3 separate regions of the Homo sapiens genome follow, and regions 2 and 3 are each linked to region 1. The links are contacts of gene promoters, found by promoter capture Hi-C in blood cells and fetal thymus (Javierre and others, 2016). All regions are on one chromosome and are shown on one strand. The core of a region is centred on a gene start or on the middle of the fragment in contact, and the rest is flanking DNA. Distances in the headings are between cores, read along the strand shown.

The links. The method cuts DNA at HindIII sites, captures the fragments that hold promoters and counts their contacts. A CHiCAGO score of 5 or more calls a contact.
Region 2: the fragment with the promoter of MMACHC here is called in contact with a fragment that was not itself captured in region 1 in 12 of 17 cell types (naive CD8 T cells, total CD4 T cells, naive CD4 T cells and 9 more); the score reaches 10.3 in naive CD8 T cells.
Region 3: the fragment with the promoter of PRDX1 here is called in contact with a fragment that was not itself captured in region 1 in 8 of 17 cell types (total CD4 T cells, naive B cells, fetal thymus and 5 more); the score reaches 8.0 in total CD4 T cells.

The regions. Positions count from the first base shown.
Region 1 is chr1:45,016,302-45,019,154 of GRCh38, forward strand. ZSWIM5 (zinc finger SWIM-type containing 5) reads right to left here. Exons shown (of 14, transcript NM_020883.2): 14 at 98-2,853. The coding sequence ends at 2,153. Among named protein-coding and RNA genes, the nearest start is that of UROD, 5.5 kb to the left of the region's middle. The HindIII fragment of the contact is 1,175 bases long and covers 795-1,969 here.
Region 2 is chr1:45,498,996-45,502,126 of GRCh38, forward strand. It overlaps MMACHC (metabolism of cobalamin associated C), which reads left to right and starts at 1,305. Exons shown (of 4, transcript NM_015506.3): 1 at 1,305-1,418. The coding sequence starts at 1,338. CCDC163 (CCDC163 homolog) reads right to left here and starts at 1,078. Exons shown (of 5, transcript NM_001102601.3): 1 at 537-1,078; 2 at 350-448. The coding sequence starts at 614. RefSeq lists enhancers at 1,018-1,550, 1,100-1,299. The HindIII fragment of the contact is 9,755 bases long and covers 1-2,555 here.
Region 3 is chr1:45,520,383-45,523,303 of GRCh38, forward strand. PRDX1 (peroxiredoxin 1) reads right to left here and starts at 1,502. Exons shown (of 6, transcript NM_181697.3): 1 at 1,447-1,502. RefSeq lists a silencer at 696-858 and an enhancer at 1,901-1,980. The HindIII fragment of the contact is 8,348 bases long and covers 1,103-2,921 here.

The sequences.
Region 1 (2,853 bases), core at 132-2,631:
GGCACCCACTGTGCTGTAGGCTGAACCAGCTCCCTGGCCCAGCCAGGGCAATGCAGAAAGGAGAGATGGGTTTCATTTAGTGAGAGAACACAATTTCTGCTTTTAGAAAAATGATCTTTTATGTGATCCATGATTTATTCATAGAAAAGCACTGTGAATTCACACACTTGCTAAAAAAGGGCAACTGTGATACAGAAATGAGAGTGGCTTCTCTCTTTTTTTTAACCAACCCATTGGGCTGAGACGTAGGGGCCCTTGGCTGGACAGTAAGACTTGAGTAGCCACAAATGGCAAATACAACTTCTTGGTCAGTTTGGAGTAAAAAAGGTGACAGTTTGTCGAAGAAAGAAAAAGTAAAGCAGATGGAGAAGTTCTTAGTTCACATTCTAGCTATACCACCCCTTCCCTATCAAACCCCACCCCCAACTCAGGAACTAAGACATGAAACAGTAAACACCAAGACACTGGTTCCAACTGACTTTTCTGAGTGCCCTTGCTACCTCCTATAACAATTCCAGGCTGAGCACAGGGGTCAGGAAGGTAGCAGGAACATGATACACTATGGAGGTCAGCCAGGGCTAAGACAGGACTGCCCACTAGGGCTAGAAATTAGGAAGGGAGAGGCTAAGTGCAGACCAGCCCTAGCCTCCAAGTCAGCGAGCAATGAGACTGTGACAAAAGCCGGCGAGGAAGCTTGAGGTAGAAAGGCAGGGGAAGAAAGCAAGTATGAGGCGAGAAGAGAACTATGGAGCTAAAGCAGCCAATCTGATGGCAGAGGGAGATTGGTGCTTAGAAGCTTGTTTGGTGAGAGAATGAATAGAGGAGGCACAGAGATGGGGAACAAACGTTTAGCTGGCGAGAGAGATTTAAGAGGAATGGGAAAGAGAAATCTGGCAAAAAGGACACATTGATGCAGATCCTCAAACATGAATACACAGACATCCCTACATGTAGAAATACGCTCAGTTACACATATAAAGACACAGATGCATGGATAACAAGCATACACATGGATACAAACATGTTTATACACATGCACTCGTGTACGCAGATACACATACTAAACATGCACAAACATGAGTGCATTTGCACAAAGATGTGCATCCTCACATGTACACAAAATGTGTATATCCTCACGTAGAAACTCACAGTCCAGTGTGCACATATTCAAACAGGTACACAGCCATAGAACTGACACATACACATAAATATATATGTGCACAAACAGGCATGCACAGATGTATCTATGTACATACACACATGTACTTAGCCATAAAGATACACACACACAATTATAGATGAAACCACACACTTGCTAACACAAAGGTGACCACAGTAGATGAATATTATGAACTCAGCGGCTTCCCAGACCTTCATCTTCTCCCTGCACTTGTTTCTCAGGTGTTCAGCAGGCTCCTGAAGAGGCTGTGTGAGGCAGGAGCTTCAATGTCCTCACAGTTTTGTGAGGCAAAAGTCTAAGTCCAGTCCTGGCCTCTGTCCCTCACTCACCACTGGACTATAAATGCCCTGTCTGTAGGTGGGGGATTCTGCATAGACTAGACTTGGGTTGATCCTAACTGGCCATTTTTCTCCTTGGCACCCCCACTCTTCCACTGCTACCAGCAAACACTCTGCAAGGGAAACCTGAGAAATGGTTGTGAGTCTCCTCAGAAAATAAGCATATCCTCCTACCCACAGCTACTTCAAGTGCCCATCAAATCAGAAGCAGAATTATAAATAGTTACAAGTTTACAATAATTAGCAACACATATAGTATTTACAGTCCCACAAATGTGTCTGTTTCTCTGGTTAAGCAATCCCTGAGATGGAACAGTGTTCTGTGTTTGCCAAGGGAGACAGGGCCAATGCTCAGGACACGCAGGATATAGGGGCATGAGGTGGCATGTTGTGGGGTTTCTGGTCGATCTGCAGGGCCCAGCTCCTCCATGAACAGTAGGCTGTAGTCAGAAGCTTGCCAAGGTAGGCATTATCGACTAGAGCTGGACTTTCCCCATCCTTAGCCCTGTGGTCCTTTGGCCTCATCCACAGGTGCTCAGAGTTCTCTCAGGGTGGACAAATGTTTCAGTGCCCTTGGCCTGACCTGATACTACCTGGGAACCCAGGCTGCTCTGGCAGTGAGCTATCTGCTCTCTCAGCCAAAGCGCTCTCGCACCAGCAGCATCAACTTTTTCTTGCCTTTGTAGATCTGTTTGAGGTTGTCGATGAACTGGGCAAACTGCAGGTGGCCATCCTGGGGCAGCAGGAAGGTCTCCCGAGCCTTGCTTAGAAACTCAATGAACTCTCCATAGTGGCGAGGGCTGATGTGTGTTAGGCGTGAGTGTGTAGTGTTGATATAGGCATTGATGGTGGCATCCAGCAACTGGCGCAATGGAGCTTTGTCAGTGGACATGAGCTTTCCAGAGCTTCGGCGGCCTGGGATGCCGGCCAGGCCAGGTGCAGTCACTGTGCAGCGTCGTAAGATGTCTGAAAGCACTGTGGCACAGTGCACACTCTTCACCACCAGGGGGATGAGAGCTGCCAGCTCATTCTTGCCCAGAGAGTGGCTGAGAGCACAAGCCCAGAGCACATCATTGATGGCTGGGTGAGTATCCTGGTTGTAGGCCAGGTTAAGATGGCTCATGGCCAATGAGGCCAGCTTGAAGGCACGTAGCGGGTAGCCACGGAGCTCCATGTAGCGGGCGATGGTGAACAGCTGTGAATGGGTCATACCACCAGCAGCAGCATCAATGGCAATCTGGTAGGCTGCCTCAAAGGCAATGTGGTCTTTCTCACAGAGTGTAAGGGCTGACAGGGCACAGCTCTGTGGATCCTTCATAGCACACTGTAGAGCCA
Region 2 (3,131 bases), core at 55-2,554, 480 kb after region 1:
CTGAGCCTGACATTGAAATTAGGATCAGAGAATAGCAACCTCACCCCAGAGAGAGGATGGGCTCTAGGACTCAGGGCAGCTCAGCCTTTGTGGAACTATGGGAGTCTCTAAAGCCCAAGGCTGTTGAGCTTGGACTCCTGACTGCAGAGGCAAGTGATGAGAGGAAATCCAGGTCCCAGCCAGGTCCCCGGCTGAGGAAATAAGGAAGGGTTAAGTGCAGGGTCTGTGTGGGGAAACAGAGTTCAGGAAAGGACAGAGTTGGAATTTGGAAGGAATAATGGATGATACGGGCACTGGAGGAAGGCACAGAAAGAGAAAGGGCTTGGAAGTAGAAAGAGACATTACTTACCTGCGGTGGAGACCCCAAGAAGATACAGCCACTGCTACAGAAGAAACAGATGCACAGGCCAATGAGCTCTGTGGAGACCCCAAGAGGATACAGCCACTGCTACAAAAGAAACAGATGCACAGGCCAATGAACTCTGAGAGTCCCTTAGCCTCCCCACGCAAACTGGGGACCTCCACCAACCCCTCACCTTATTCCGGACCACATTTCCATCAGTAGCGTTGAGAAGCACATCCAGCTGCTCAAACCAGCTGAGGCTCGTATTCATATCCTGTGGCAGGGGAGCGGCAGGGGTCTGGCTCCCTGGTGTCTTGTGCTTGCTCTCCTAGCGGGGGATACCCAAGGTATCCCCAGGAAAGGCCACCACGTTAGATGGAAAGAGGGAAGTGGGGATGCAACACTGGGGTAGGTGGATGCACTATCAGACCAAAACTGCGATCCTGTGACTAGGGAAAGGAAGGACGCTCTTGGGGAACTGGGGGAAAAGCGGGATACCGTGATGATACGCAGATATCAGGTGGGGATTGAAGGTGCCAGAACCTGGTTGAGACCTCCCCAGAAGTAGTACACTGGCGCCACCACGCCAAACCTGTGCCAGTGACAACTGCCGCCGCCGGGTTCAAAACTTCGGGTTGGTTTTGAAAGTCCGACTTTGGACTGGCTGCCGCAGCGCCACCTGGGAAACTGAGGTCGCCTCTTGCGAACACAACCGGCGATGGAGGCGGTGGAACTACCTTTCTCTAGAAGAGACACGTACATGCACACCCCCACCGTGTAGCTTGCCGGGAAACTGAGTCTTCCTGATTTCGTGTGGCTGTCTCCAAGGAGGAAACGAACTACGCATCCCAAGATGCATCGCGCATAGGCAATATGGTCCCGCTACTGGACCCATTTCCTACCTGGGAAATGGAGTCGAAGCTGACTCAAAACGTAACGGCCCAATTGTCCTTGAGACTTCATTCCCCAGCAAGCTCAGCGTGTAACGTGCGCTATGGAGCCGAAAGTCGCAGAGCTGAAGCAGAAGATCGAGGACACGCTATGTCCTTTTGGCTTCGAGGTTTACCCCTTCCAGGTTAGTTTATCCCTCCTGCTGTTCTAGGGCGAAATATATGATTGGCTTCGTTGCAACTGGCGTGAGGCCTCGGGAGCCTCTGATCCTCCTGGGTTCCTGCAGCCCAGTGTCCATGTGACAACAGGGACAGAGTTTCAGTGGGGGCTTGGGTTAAAAAGGTAGTGGTCGAGGCCGGGCATGGTGGCTCACGCCTGTAATCCCAGCACTTTGGGAGGCCGAGGCGGGCGGATCACCTGAGGTGAGGAGTTCGAGACCAGCCTGGCCAACATGGTGAAACCCCATCTCTACTAAAAATATAAAATTAGCCGGGCGTGGTGGTGCATGCCTGTAATCCCAGCTACTCGGGAGGCTGAGGCAGGACAATTGCTTGAACCCATGAGACGGAGGTTGCAGTGAGCCGAGATTGCGCCATTGCAGTCCAGCCTGAGCAACAAAGAGCGAAACTCCGTGTCAAAAAAAAAAAAAAAAAAAAAAGTTGTCGCATGTTTAACCTTTTGCCACCATATAATGCCGGATTCGTTAACGGGAGACACCATATGACCTGTAGCGTGTGTGGCTCAGATTGTCACCTATATAATTTACAAGAAGAAAGGGACCTGTGAGGCAAAGTCACCTTGGAACTTCCTAAAGGATTTAGGAGAGGGCAAAGCCTAGAAGGTTTGCATAGCTATCATTTAGGTCAGCTGAGGAAGGAAGGGCATTCCTGGTGATGAACAGGCAAACAATTGGCTGGTTTGTTCCCTCTACCAACAGAAGGATAATTCATGATATTTCCAGTCATCAGTGCTGGGCTGGGTAATGAAACTTTGTACACTTGCCTGGCACAGCAGTCTCAGCACCGCACCCCGACCCCCATTTACACGGTTACATTTCCCCACATCAGTGCCCTGTGCACTGAGCAGTTAAGTTACAAAGCTAAATCAGCTCAGCTTGAGCCCTTTGCCTGATGCTTAAGAGACTACCCACTTCCCATTCCTTCTGCTGAGTGGCTCACAGCAGTCCTGGGAGAGGATATAGAGGGAGAAGTAGGTTGGGTCTAGCTTGAGACTGGTCTTGCCAGAAAAAATGGAATTGAGCTATATATGAAAAGATAGATTGGAAGGAAGGAGGGTTATGTACATCCCAAATATCAGAAAAAGCTTGAGTAAAGGTGTGGAGATAGTGGTGTGGTGTTACCAAGTAAAAGGGCTTGATGCCTGATGTGCTGGAAGCTAATATTATGACACTGGGTTTTTGAGAAAACAAAAGCTATTTGTTGCAGATCGACCTTTAACTCTTTGAGACACCGTTTCAGTGGATGGCAGGTGTGTGGGAGAGTGAGAATGCCTATCTGGCAAGTTGAGTAGACCTGGGTATTAGGAGCTTTTGTACTGAACAAAGCCAACTGCAGCCCTGCCAGTCACCCTAGGCTCCTACCTCTCACCTCCCTACCCCCACATCCAATCAGCCACCAAGACCTATAAGACTGTCTACTGAATCTCCCAAATCCATTCCCTTGTATTCCACCCATCTATGCTGTGGTCCAGGCCACCATTTCTCACTTGGATTACTGTAATAACCTCCTTGCTGTAATTTTACCTCCAGTCCCTCCTCCACACTGCAGCCAGTGTGATCTAAAAATGATCATGCTAGTTTACTCCTTAAATCTTCAGTGGCTCTTCACTGTCACCAAATTAAATCCATATTCCTTAAATTGGTATTCAAAGCCAATCA
Region 3 (2,921 bases), core at 252-2,751, 500 kb after region 1:
AAAAGGAAGGTTGCACTGGATTCACCCAGATCAACACCAAGATTAGTATTGAGATCTTGGCCAAGCGCTGTGGCTCAAGCCTGTAATCCCAGCACTTTGGGAGGCCGAGGCAGGCAGATCACCTGAGGTCAGAAGTTCGAGACCAGCCTGGCCATCATAGTGAAACCCCGTCTCTAACAAAAATACAAAAAATTAGCCGGGGGTGGTGGCACGCGCCTGCAGTCCCAGCTACTCGGGAGGCTGAGGCAGGAGAATGGCGTGAACCCGGGAGGCGGAGGCTGCAGTGAGCCGAGATCCAGCCACTGCACTCCAGCCTGGGCGACAGAGCGAGACTCCGTCTCAAAAAAAAAAAAAAAAAAAAAATACAAAAATTAGCCGGGGCTTGGTGGCACAAGCCTGTAATCCCAGCTACTCCTAAGGCTGAGGCAGAAGAATTGCTTGAATTCGGGAGACAGGGGTTGCAGTAAGCCGAGACCGCGCCACTGCACTCCAGCCTGGCCGACAGAGCGAGACTCTAGCTCAAAAAACAGAGATTTAACCCACTAAGCCGCGGTCTGAAAGCTTTTCCAAGTCCCAAAGTTCTTAGTTCACAATACCACAAGCAAAAGAAATTTTGTAAGCATGGATCTTAGCAAACTTTTAACTGTTTTTTAAAAAGTCCTTAACACCTTTAACGACAAAAAACAAAAACCAAAAACTAAGGCATGCTGCAACTTGGTGCCCCCAAATGGCCTTCTCGTCCAATCCTTCTTTCCCAAGTGGCCCCCAAGTACAAAACCCAACCAATTCGGGGTAAAGGCTGCTGGGATTCAGGCCGCCACCGGGCCCCTTCAGGGGATCTGCCCAGCGTAGAGGGCCACATCCCTAAACCCCACTTCAGGTGCCCCCTGTCCCTCCCCAGCACTGGAGAAAGCACCAGCAGAGAGAGTGCTTCAGCGGGGACATTTGGGCTCATCGCTAACTCCATTCCACGTACAGGAAAATAAAGACGGGGAAAGGGTACCCGAAGCTCCGCAGCTAGTCAAGGCTCAGGACCCGGAACAGCCAAATACATAGAGGCTGTCTTCTACAGCCACGAGTCTGGATACAGGTCCATTCCAGAAGCTTCCCGAACCCACCCCGTCCGGCAGGAGGCTAGTCTCGGAGACCCCCACCACCAGCCCGCCCAGACGCCGCGCCACGTGCTCGAGTTGCCGGGGGAAGACTCGACTCGAGTCCACGCTTGCCTTGGGGTTCAACCAGGTTCCCGCACCTACGTGGGGGGCCCACGAGAGGGGTGTGCGCAGCGCTCAAGCAGTCTCGGACTCCGGGCCTCCCCCGGCTGCCTCACGCATCACAGCACCCCCACCCGAGCGCGGGCGGGCCCCGGACAGGAGGAGGAAGAGGCAACAGGCAAGAAGGGCGCGCCGCGCCTCACTCCGCAGGGGCCGCACTGCCCACACTCACCAGTCCCAACACAAGTCGCAGAAACTAACCACCGACACCAGGCAAGAACAAGACGCGCAAGAGCTCTCCGGGGCGCTGCCTTTATAGCCAGTAGGGATCTCGCGAGAGTCGGAACGGACGGGGGTGCCGGAGGAGGAGAGAGAGGAGGGGGATGTGGCCCGAGCCCCGCCCGGCGCGCCCCGCCGGAATGACTCGGCGCTTTCCCTCGTTGGGGCGGGTGCGGAAAAATACTAATACCCCACCCTGTTGCGGATGGCTGAGGTTGGAGTGAGGCGCCCTTGTGGCCGCTCCCGAACCCGAACGCTTAGGTTAATCCTAGATCTCTGCGGAAAACCAGGATTCTCTTTACTTCCAGGACCACTACGCACTGTGCCCTCAATGCCCAAACTGGAGTAAGCGTCTTAGCTGCTGCCCACGGAGGACCACGTCTAACCACACCAAGCCATGAGAACTGTCTATCCAAATATTTCTTAAGTTCGCAGCCTTAACCCCAGCGCAGATCCTCAGTAACCCTCATGGCTTAGATAGCTTCCTTCATTGTTCTCTTTAATTACAGGGTTGCTGCTTTCTGTTGTAAAGGAAAATAAAATATCAGGACTCCTAAACTTACGCCAGAGGGAAAGTTCATCTTGGGAGGCTGATTCAGTTACACGACCATCCTCTCCCCGGATGAATAATTTGACTTTACAATCTTGAGTCAAAACATTACACATTAGCCAGACCCACACGGTAAGGCAAAAGGCCTCAGACATTTCCTGATGACTACCCCCCACAAACACACATACACAAAATCATAATTAATTATTTGCTCCCCTGGAAACCTTTAAAGTATGTAGCCTCCCATAAAACAAGGACGTGTCAATTGCAACTAGATCTACAATATAAAGTCTAGTTCCTAAAACTAAAGTTTGTTCTATTCCACATTTTTTTGAGACGGAGTCTCACTCACCCTGTCGCCCAGGCTGTAGTGCAGTGGCACGGTGTTGGCTTACTGCAACCTCCACCTCCCGGGCTCAAGCGATTCTCCCGCCTCACCTCCGGAGTGTCTGGGACTACAAGCACGCACCACCACGCCCAGCTAATTTTTTGTATTTTTAGTAGAGACGAGGTTTCATCATGTTGGCTAGGCTGGTCTCCAACGCCTGACCTCAGGTGATCCGCCCGCCTTGGCCTCCCAAAGTGCTAGGAATGTAAGCGCGAGCCACCGCACCTGGCCTCTATTCCACAAATTCCATAAATGTTCACTACTAGATTACCTTTCTACTAGACTACTTTCTACCTTTCTAGTAGTACCTTACTACTAGATTACCCTGAGTCCACCACATAATTGTTTTCTTCCTCCATTCCCTTTTTCTTCAAACATTCACCTTATCTTATGTAAAAATGTAGATTTAGGCCACCTAGGAGGGCGGATCATAAGGTCAGGAGATCGAGACCATCCTGGCCAACATGGTGAAACCCTGTCTCTGCTAAAA